Linked DNA regions of Homo sapiens: region 1 is linked to region 2. Evidence: promoter capture Hi-C in 16 types of primary human blood cells and fetal thymus (Javierre and others, 2016). All regions are on one chromosome and are shown on one strand. Each heading gives the region's core, a stretch centred on a gene start or on the middle of the fragment in contact. The rest is flanking DNA. Distances are from core to core; before and after follow the strand shown. Region 1 overlaps SLCO3A1 (solute carrier organic anion transporter family member 3A1). Region 2 holds the start of SLCO3A1 (solute carrier organic anion transporter family member 3A1).

Region 1 (5,448 bases), core at 1,003-3,502, 240 kb after region 2:
TGAGCCACCACGCCCAGCCACCCCAGCTTTATTAAAGTTCATCTGACACTGCGTGGCACATGGTGTGGAGGACTCGGTGCAGGGTGGGGTCTTCCTGTAGCCCCTCACCATCATGTACTCTCATCTTGGTACTGCTCCTGATATCATGTGATAGATTTGTGTTTGTTGCCATTCTTCAAACTCCACAAGGGTGAGGTTTTCATCTGTTTTGTTCACTGCTATGTCCCATAGTGTTCACTGTTGCTGACATAGTCCTAGCAAGTAGGAGGTTCTCAGTGGGTATTTGTTGACCGAGAGTGGTGGAAAGTCTTTCTAATAAGACAGGAAGCTTCTTGAGGGCAAAATTCTTGTCCAAGTTATCTTTTCTTCCCCAGGGTCCAGAGGTGGCTGGTGCTGAATTTAAAGATTATATAGTGCGGGAAAAGGCAGACTCACCACCAGGAAGTCTTGCTGGAGGTCGTTTTCTTAAGGAATTTGCCGTAGTGTATACCTAGACTAATCTGTCATGGGCAGAAACTCTTCATCATCTGGGTATAAGTTGAGATAATAAGCTTCTCAGGCAAATTTGCAACAGAGGGTCCCAAACTTACTTGGTTCACAGCGTCCTGAGTCCAAAAGAAATACGTAGTAGTTTTGTTTATCAAGCAGTTAGGCTCATACTGCTTAGTAAGTGTTGCTATCCTCACAACATAGAGTAGCTGCTCGAAAACCATGATACGTATCAACAGAAAATATATATATATTTTAGTCATAATCGCTTACTAATGGGATGTGTGTCCCTGTTGGCAACTGCACAGTTTCTGAAACCTTGGAATCAGATTGGACATTGCCACCCTCATTTTCTGTGCATATTGATTTCCACACTTGGTTTTCTCACAGCAACTATGGAAAACTCAGCTCACAAAGATGTAATGTCACTGAAAGAAATCCAGTGTTGACACCATAGGCTACCTTGGGATAGTAGATTCACATGTCCAAGAGATGTCAGGTATTGCTGTGTTTCCCTTAGAAACTCAAGATATTCTGCCTTACCCCTGTGAGTTCACTGCAGTACCCAATGGTGTCCCAGCACAGTCTGTAAACTGAAGATTTGTGCTAATTCACTGAAGGCCTGTGTACAGAATGCCAGAGCCAGATCACCATGCAGGGGAGCACTGCATTCAAACCCTTGTCCCCTTGTCCAGCCATCTCATCCCTGGGAGGTCGGGCTGGCAACCCAGTGTGCCAATGTGCTTGGCTTGGCAAGCAGCAGATCAGTGGGGTGGACTCCGGACATCCAGTCAGTCTGGATGCTGATGAGGCTTGAGATTACAGCTGTTTCCCAGCAAGAACTCCTTCCTGGGCCTGGCCTGCTCCCAGCTCCAGCCCCTCTCCCCCAAAGATAGCTTTAAGAAATGAGGTATGGAGGGTGTAGTGAGCTTTGGAAAGAGAAGGACTGGGAACCCAGGTGGGTGCCAGCCCTCGTTGTAGGAGAGTCACAGGTGTCATCTATTTAACAAACCCTTCCCTGGGTCTTTCTGTATGCCAGACACTTTTCTAAGAGGTTTGCAAATAGGAGGTCATTCAATCCTCACCACAACCCCATGAAGTCGATCTATTGTTACCCCCACTTTACAGAAGAAGAAGCTGAGGCATGGGAGGTTAAATGTACTTTGCCCAAAGGTTCATGGAGCTGGGAAGTGGTAGAGCTGGGATTTGAACCCAGGCTGTTCATACTCTCACCTGGACTTTTCCCTTAGGGGGTTAGAAAACCTGGGCAATCCTTCCCACTGTGCTGCTTTCTAGCAACGTGCTGGGGCCAGGTGCTGAACCACTCTAAGATTCTGTTTTTCCGCTGTGAAACAGGCCCAGTAAACTTCCCCCTGGGGTCATTGAATGGCTTCCAGGAGATCAGGCATGTAAAGTGCTTTCAATTATCCAGGGTAGTAGCAAAGAAAGCCTTCAGACCTCCCTGACTAGGGAATCCCAGGCTCTCCTCCCCACCGACATACATGAACCTGGAAGACAGCAGGGGGCAGCACCGGGCCGCTGCAGAAGGTTCTGCACCTGGAGGCGCTGGCCCTTCCTTCCACAGGGATCCTGCATCTCAGTACCTGGCAATCTGCTCCTCCTCCATTCAGGCAGAACATTCGAGCTGGCTTTGCCAAAACAAGAACAAAATCACAGCCTGGCAGGATGAATTAAGGGGGAAACCAAGGAAGAAAGCTCAGCATAACCGTTGTTAGCTCAGAACCTGCCTTGCACATCTGGGCCTTCTGAAGCTGCTCGTTTCAGTTGTTAAGATATTTCTGAAGGCACTTCCCGATGCACGAAGGCCCCTCCCACGTCCCACCACCGGACTGTCCTTTGAAAAAGGTTCGAGAACGCGTTGCAGGTGGTGGTTTACCTTGAGGTCCGTGTGACGAGGAGCGACATAGAAAAGTGACCAGAGGTTGCACCTGAGGAGGAAGATGCCTTTTATACCAAAATACGTGTGCACAATGTCTTTGGTGTTTGGCGTGGGGTCCTATCAACTCCGTCCTGTTCCTTTTTAGCTTATCTTTGTTCAGCTGAAACCCAGATGAGAACAGGACCTTGAAAAAGCCACAATCCAAACTCTGGAAACCCACACCTTCTCATAGAGGAATTTGGTGGAGAGGCTGCCTCAGGGTGTGGTGTCTCCACAGCAGGCCACTGCTGTTCCCTGTTCAAGCCACCATCCCCAGTCACTGGCCCATCTGGGCCCTGTGGGGCTCCTGTGGACAGCTGAGGCCAGCAGCTTGAGGGACGCCCCTCCTTTTCTGCAAGAGGGCAGGAGGCCTGGGACCCCAATTGTGCTATGATGTCTGGCTAGTCCTCACTTTCAACTGTACTGTCCCCAAGCATGGGGATAACAGCACAGTCTCGATGCAACCCCTTCAGCTTGTTGGTTGTTTCTGTTTTTCCAAGGATGCTGAAGGCTTGGTCCTTTGACCCATTAAGTATTAATAATAATTCTCATTATTCAGTCTGTAGGGCATGGATCAGTGACGAATACATTGCTTGGGGGATTTATTTAAGGGAAGAAGGGCTATGATTATGGGTGATGGGGGAGGTGCCGGGAGTCACAGCAGATGAGTCAAGAAGGGTAGGCACAGCACCCATGGCAAGAGAATTGTATCCCTGTGCTCTGTGTCCCGTTCTTTTGGGAAGGCCTGAGCAGTGAGTTTGTTTGCTGAGCCGTCTCTAGAGTGCCAGTAACTCTGACTGCTGGCTTACCACAGCCTGCAGCCTGGATGGGAGGATATGACTGGCTTCAGGACTTTGCAGGAATCTCTCTGGTCTAGTGTGGGTGCCGCTTCTGACTCGGACAACTGTTCTCCATGCCCTCTACTTCCTGCTGCTTTCTCAGATCCTCTTCCTGCTGCTCTGCTCCCTAACCACAACCCCACTAAATAGAGCCCCCTAATTCTAGCCCATTCCGAAAGATCTTTTCCAGTAACATCCCCTGCCCCCAACTTTGTGTGCTTGGTTATCTTAAAGTTATGACAAACCAGAGATAATGTGCTGATCATGTGAACGTCACTCCTCTCCAAAGTGACACATTTTCATTTTCTAAAATGCACCTTATTAACAGAAATAAGATTCTACAGTTTCTGGTTGGCCATGGAGTGACTATTTGGAAACAGTGGAACTTCCAGATTTCTTCGCATCCAAGTAGGATTTTGCTGAGGGTGGACTCAGCCCTGTTTCTGTGATATAAAACATTTTCTTCATTCTTTCCTTCATCAGACATCTCCTATAAGCCCCGTTCAAATGACTGCTTCAGGGTTCTGGGTTCCCGTGTGTAAATGTGTGTTAGTTCATTCTTGCCTTGCTATAAAGAAATACCTGAGGCTGGGTAATTTACAAAGAAAGGAGATTCGAGTGGCTCGGGGTTTTGCAGACAGTACCGGAAGCATGGTGTTGGCATCTGCTCCTGGTGAAGGTCTCCAGAAGCTTCCAATCATGGCAGGAGGCAAAGGGGGAGCAGGCACATTACGTGGCGAGAGCCAGAGCAAGAGGGAGAAGGGGAGGTCCCAGATTCCTTTAAACAATCAGATCTTGTGTGAACTGAGTGAGAGCACACCCATCACCAAGGGGGCGGTGCTGAGCCATTCATAAGGGGTCTGCCCCCATGATCTAATACCTCCCACTAGGCCCCACCTCCAATATTATGGATTACACTTCAACATGAGATTTGGAGGGGACAAACATGCAAACTATATTACGCGGCTTCCTTTGCCCGGTATTTAAAAACCATTTGCCTTCCTCTGTGTAGTTTAAGTTGTTTTTCCCCACCTCAAGTCAATGAATGAGTTCGGAGGAGGGAAAGCTTCAAGTCAGCGAGGCTAGGATTTTTACTGGTTGGTTCAATGCTGAATCCCCAACCCTGAGAATAGTACTTGGCACATAGAAGGAGCTCAGTAAAACTTGACTGAATGGATGAATATGTGATTGGTTCCACAATGACATCACCGAGAGAATTTAGGGTGAGTTGGTCTACGCCTATGAACAGACTAGGCTGGAGAGCTACCCTCCACTGGGCTTAGGTTCCCAGCAAGTGACATTCATCTCTCACCCTGCTCTCCAGGTGCCCGTGTGGCCTGTTAGCACCCAACCTTGGAGCTGCCTGGCCTGGAATTACCCATGCACTGACTGTCCTCATCAGATGGCCAGCTTCTAAAGGGAAGGGCCACTTTCTGGACTCTTATTTTTGCCTCCAGGGCCTGGAGAACTGTCAGTGCTCAAGAAATGTCTACCAAATTGAAATTTAAATAGATACAGCCTGTGGGTTTGAATTTGGGATCAGTACTTTTCCCAGAATGTCCTAAAATTTCTGTGTAAAATACCAGGTATTGTATCGATCAGATACTTAAGCACTGCCCAGAGCCTGCCATTTTCTCAAGTGCTACAGAATCACTTAATTCCTGAACAGCTGTTACAAGCAGCCACAACAACAGTGGAAACAGATAATGACTTCAAAACGTGGACAGAAATTGAAGAATTGAAATTAATAAATGTGTAATTAAATGTTAGATATTTACCATCGTGTGAACTTTGTTATTTGCTGAATTTCGGAGTCTTGAACGTTTTATTATATTTGAAAATAATTTGTGGCATAGATTATCCTCACTTCACAAAAAATTCTTGAGTTTGCACAGTGGGTGTCAAGGGATCTTAGCCAACCATAAATTAAATAAGTTACATAAAAGTAAGTAAATGTAAAAGCAAAATTATAAAAGCCTTTTCAAAAGTGTGGATGGCAGAAAAAATATTTAATGATAGATGCGGATGTATTTTAATATGTTTGATGTGGGGTGAAGTCCTCTAAAAGTAAGGGACACAAATTTCAAAGCAACCTACCTGAAATACTATAGAATTGTAGCATAATATACAGTGCTTTCATAGAGTTTCCAAAAATTAGAAATTCAGCCTTTCCCCTCTAGG
Region 2 (5,697 bases), core at 2,191-4,690:
GGGGTGGGGCAGCTTTTGTTCCCTTATTTGTCCCCACTCATGTCCTGCTGATTGGTCCATTTTTCAGAGTGCTGATTGGTCCATTTTACAAACCTCTAGCTAGCTACAGAGCACCGATTGGTGCGTTTTTACAGAGCACTGATTGGTGCATTTTACAAACCTCTAGCTAGCTACAGAGTGCTGATTGGTGCATTTTACAATGCTCTTGTGAGACAGAAAAGTTCTCCAAGTCCCCATCCGACCCAGGAAGTCCAGCTGGCTTCACCTCTCACTCCCACCAATTTGGGGTGGCAAATGTAGACTCAATTCCTGCCACTTGCTGGCGGTGAGCTCCCAAAATCCACCTACTGTTGTTTCTTTTGAGAAAAAAAAGGGGCTAATAAGACCAGCTCTCCCTGTTGTAAGCTTCAGCTGAGATACAGGACATAGAAGTACTTCATAAGCATTAACGTGCTGTACAGATACAAGGATGTTTACTATTTTTCTGCTGCTTCCTCTATCTGCATACGGGGCTAGGGGAATGCCAAGCAGAAGCACTTGGTGCTCATAAACCCACCTTATCATCCCTGGAGCCCTGATCTACAAGTAAATAAAGGATGAGCAAAGAAGGAAGGGAGTTGAACTTGTTAAATTCCTTCTTTCTGACTGTTGTGAGGCCGCAGCCTGATTTCCCTGAGGCTGACTTTGATGATTCTTTAGGCTTCAGGCACCAGGATTACTTTCATGGCTGCTTACCATTAATTATAGGAAGAATCCACAACCCTAATCCGAAATCCTTTATCTGACAGCAAAAGTGTGTGATTTCTCTAAAGACAGCTAATTTTTTAATCTAAAATAAATGGTTAAGCTGAAAGAAGGCTGTGCCCTTCTCAGTCTGTACATGAGGCATTGTGGCATAGAACAAAAAGGGCTGGCCGGGCGTGGTGGCTCATGCCTGTAATCCCAGCACTTTGGGAGGCTGAGGCAGGTGGATCACCTGAGATCAGAGTTCGAGACCAGCCTGACCAACATTAAGAAACCCCGTCTCTATTAAAAATACAAAATTAGCCGGGTGTGGTGGCACGTCTGTAATTCCAGCTACTCCAGAGGCTGAGGCAGGAGAATCACTGAAACCCGGGAGGTGGAGGTTGCCATGGGCCGAGATCGCACCATTGCACTCCAGCCTGGGCAACAAGAGCGAAACTCCATCTCAAACAAACAAACAAACAAAAAAGAACAAAAAGGGCTGGACATGGATGCAAGTTTTGTTCCTTTCCAGCTTTATAAAAGAGGAACAACATAAGTCCCAGCCTCCCCATCAGATGAACCACACTGCGTGATAAACGAGATAATATGTATGTAGTTATAAAGAACCTGGGCTATGATGGCAGACAACCTGGTTTTCAAAGACTTGCCCTGCCACTTACTAGACAAGTGACACTGGTCAGGTTAACCTTTCTAGGCCTCAGTTGTCTCATCTGTAAAACAAGGCTAATAATAGTATCTGGTTTAGAGGATTGCTGTGAGGATTACGTTGTAAATGCGGGTGAAGCACTGAGAATGGTGTCTGGCCATAATAAGCACACAGTAAACATTAGCTCTTGTTATTACAAAGAATGTAAATAAGAGTTGAAGACTATAAAGCACTCCGCACATTTCATTAGCAATGGGGTCACCATTCGTAGACAAGTCTCAGCTCAGCTTTGCAGCTTACCGTCACAGAGGCAGGGAACAGAGCTAGCTTGTCAAGGGTCTTCTCAGGAGGAAGTGGGGAGGTAGCCCATGAAGCAAAGTGATGGGGAGGGAAAGAGGGGGACATAAAGATCCTGCAGAGAAGTTGGCTCCGAGTGATAGGAGGGTGTGGGGAAGAAAGAAGGGGGCAGTAAGGATTCTCATTATAGGACTGGCCGGGAATGGTGTGACCACTGATTCAGGAAGTGGGGAAGACGGGAAGAGACTTCAAGTGTGGGGGGAGCCAATTCAGATAGGAGGTGGCCTAGACAAGGTGAGGGCATCTCAAAGCGACACCAAGCCTGGGTGAGATCACGTCTGGAGCCACAGAAGGATGAAGCAGTTTATATTTAAATGCCATGGCAAAACAACATCCCCACCATTACACCCTCCATTCTCATTCAAGTTCTTCGGGAGAAAGGAAAAATATGGTCGGGTTCATTGCTATTCAGTTTTGAAGTTGAGCCTGCATTTGGACACAGGCGCTTGGGAGAGTGGGTCATTTTCTTTGACACAATTATTAAGGAAACCGTTTTAAATGATTCCTTGAGTCCCCCAATGGCCCAGGTGGAAGGTGCTGTTTCCTGGTACCTGTCCAGCCCTCTGAGCTTTTCTCTCAGCTTCCAAACGCTGCAGTTGAGAACTAGCAGATCCTATTGGTAGTGCCCTGTGGCCCACACTCCTTGGTAACGGTGAGAGTGGGGAGTAATTAGGAGCGGCTGCCATGGGCCAGGCATTCAGGTCAAGGCCGAGGATGGTGGCCAGGGCCACAGAGCCAGGGGACGGGTGGGGACCCAGCAGGCCTGCGGCTGGCCGCTTGCTGAGCGCTCCAGCAGCGGGGCCCTGGGCGGATGAAGGGCCGGAGAAGGCCCTCTGCTGGGGCCGCGGCGATCTTGCAGCGCCTGGACACCGAGGCTGGGGCACTAACGGTCCGTGGGGCTCCCGACGTATTCCTCTAACTTCCCCTTTCTGTCCTTTCGGTCTGGGGCCTTTTCAACACCCCCTGTGGCCGGGGACAGCTGGGGCAGAAACCGGCAGGCGGCAGAAGCCTCAAGCAGCTCTGACCTCTGGCACCTCCCCAAGACCCAGAGCACAACATCTGTCCCCAGAAATCCCCGGGCGGAGAAGAGCGCGCGCCAAGCCCTTCCTGGGTACTCAGTATTCTCCCTTCCTGGGAACAGCCTGCCCTCTGAGGCCTGGGCACCCGGGTTCCCGAGCGCCGGGTCCCAGCCCCGCGGGGGCGCCTCCGCACCCCATCTCCGCGCCCGGCGCAGAGCCGCCAGTCTCCGCCGCGGGGCCCCGTGCCCCGCAGCGCCACCTAGGGGCCGGGCGCCGCCTCCCGCCCTCAGGGGCACCCCCCTTACTCCGCAAGGACTCCGGGTCTCCCCAGTTCTCCCGGCAGCCGGACCCTCCCAGCCTCGGCCGCCGGGCCGCCCTCCGCATCCCAAGCCCGCCTCCCGTGCCTCCCCGGGGGCGCACCGGCAGCGAGGAGCGGCTCGGCGAGGGCGCGCAGCGGCGGCCCAGGCCCAGGCCTTGGGGCTGGGGCTGAGGGGGTGAGAGCAGGCGCGGCCGGCGGGCAAGGGGAACCGGGCGATGGCAGCGGCGGGCGGCCGCGGGAGGCGAGGCAGCGGCGGCGGCGGGCGGCGCGACGAGCCCCTGTGATTGGCACAGCCGGAGCCGGAGGAGGAGGCCAGGGGAGGGCGGAGGCGGGGGAGGAGGAGGAGGAAGGGGCGATCGCGGCGGCGGCGGCGGCGGCGAGGAGCTGTGCCTTCCACCTCTCCAGCCCCGGCAGGACGGGGGCGGCCGCCGCGAACCCGGGGCGGGGACAGCACGCAGCCTCGAGGCGCGCACCCCCGCCCGGCAGCGGCCCCGACACCCGGGGCGAGCGGGAAAGCGGCAGCGGCGGCGGCGGCGGCGGCGGCGGGGGAAGGATGCAGGGGAAGAAGCCGGGCGGTTCGTCGGGCGGCGGCCGGAGCGGCGAGCTGCAGGGGGACGAGGCGCAGAGGAACAAGAAAAAGAAAAAGAAGGTGTCCTGCTTTTCCAACATCAAGATCTTCCTGGTGTCCGAGTGCGCCCTGATGCTGGCGCAGGGCACGGTGGGCGCCTACCTGGTGAGTCCCCGAGCCAACTCCGCCGCGGGCCCCTTCCCCAGCCCGGCTCTCGAGCGGCCGCCTGGCCCGACGAGGGGGCCGCCCGGCGCTGGGGGCAGGCGGGCATGACCTCGGCCCGGCGTGGAGGTTGGCGAGTGGTGCAGAGGCGGCCGCCGGGGGAGCTGCCGGCCGGGGCTGCCAGCGAGCGGGTAGCGGGCGGGACCGTTGATGCCGGTAGCAGCTCGCGCGCGTCCGGCTGGGGCAGGGGGTGCCGGGGGAGGAGAGGCGGCGGGCAGGTGGGCGTGAAACTATTCCTCTCCCCCCATAAGAGCGGAGCGAGACGGTGAGTTCAGGGTTCTCCTTGGAGAGGAACGAAAAAGCGTCGGGGTTTTCAGGTGACCTGCACATGGGAAGAAAAACCAGTTAGCATCCTGCGTCCTCTACTCTCCATTGCATCCTCCTCGAGAACAAATCTATTATGCATCATTTTCTCCGGGCGCTTTCTACATCCGCCAATTACAGGGGGATATAACAGCTTAGAGTGAAATGCGCCCTAGTGTGGCCCTGGCCTGAGCCGGGGCTGCAGGGGGAATATTGCCACCCGGTATCCCTATAGCCCTCTTTGAGCGTCTGGGATAAAGTTACGGTACCTAGAGAGCAGCTGCGAGTTTGTGTAGTTCCTGCTATCCACTCTTAGTGCTAAATTCCCCATCGTGGTCTGTCGCCTACAGAAGGTTGCACCATTTTCCACAATGAATATGTATTTTATTTGCCTCCAGAAAGGGGATGTTAATGCTCAGAGGGCCCATGGGTGCGTAACATTTCAGAGGAAACAGCTTGTAATGACTCAGCACTGTCAGGTACCTACTTTGTCGCTTTCGCCTCCTCTGCTCAGGTGGTCGCAACTTGAGTTCCAGAGAGCGTGCTTCCACACCTAAGTACAGTCCTGTCTAAACGGGAAATTTTTTTTGAGAGTTTATAGTGTTAAATCATTACTTGGCTATTGACCCGCAACTGGAATCAAATGTCATAGACTTTGAGTATTCCTGAGCAAGTTTGATGGAGATAGAATTGGACAAGATTTTGGCCATTGAATAACCACATCCAGAGATAGAACCACGCGTATCCTGATGCTATGATTAATCCCTCATTCCTGGCCTTGGGGTAAAGTTCATGAGGGCCAGACGCTGGGGGCTGTATACCATTCATAAACTATCTCTTAAGGCTCAGGGCTCACTGTTAAAGGGAAATACAAGCAGTGCTTGGTCTCCGGTGTTGAGGAAGTTAGGTGGTTGTGAGAGAGGGGGTCTTCAAACTCAGCTCTGTTCCTGGGGTGACAGAATTTCAGGGCTTTTGAAAATCAAATACATTTCTGTTGCTCATTCTGAGACGAAAAGCGTTTACATCCCGGTCTCTGTCTTGTGCATTCGTAACTTGTAGACTGCAAGTGAACCCTGTAGTCAAAAGCATACCTTGTTTTCTGTTCTATAAAATACACTTATTGTGTCTATAGTTATAATATGCAGTTGCAGACAGTACCTATTAGCCCTTGGAATTTGAGGGATAGGGGATAATTGTGTTTTGGGAGTCAGTTTATCGGCACTTCCTTAGGGGAAATTTAACTGTTAAAATATTTAAATAAGTACATGTATTACAGAGATGCAAATTCACATTAATAAAATATATGTGGGTCTGTACTGTGACATATGCAAAGTACATAATACCTAACCGGGTCTATGTTTAGAAGGAGGTAATTAGTATATCAACAGCTGCCTCCACTTTAACGGTTTGTTTGCCTCAAACCAATTTTGCTCGGTAGAGTGCATTATTCATGTGTGGCAAACACCCGCAGAACTTTTCACCCCAGGAGTGATAAAAGCGTGGGCTTACTATTTTT

What was found. Contacts are between HindIII fragments. The CHiCAGO score rates a contact against its expected background, and 5 or more counts as called.
Region 1: a fragment that was not itself captured here is called in contact with the fragment with the promoter of SLCO3A1 in region 2 in 2 of 17 cell types (M1 macrophages and non-activated CD4 T cells); the score reaches 5.5 in M1 macrophages.

The regions. Positions count from the first base shown.
Region 1 is chr15:92,089,307-92,094,754 of GRCh38, forward strand. All of the region lies in intron 2 of SLCO3A1 (solute carrier organic anion transporter family member 3A1), which reads left to right. Among named protein-coding and RNA genes, the nearest start is that of SLCO3A1, 240 kb to the left of the region's middle. RefSeq lists an enhancer at 1,626-2,362. The HindIII fragment of the contact is 3,406 bases long and covers 550-3,955 here.
Region 2 is chr15:91,850,268-91,855,964 of GRCh38, forward strand. It overlaps SLCO3A1 (solute carrier organic anion transporter family member 3A1), which reads left to right and starts at 3,441. Exons shown (of 10, transcript NM_013272.4): 1 at 3,441-3,821. The coding sequence starts at 3,642. RefSeq lists silencers at 2,863-3,037, 2,906-3,045. The HindIII fragment of the contact is 9,711 bases long and covers 404-5,697 here.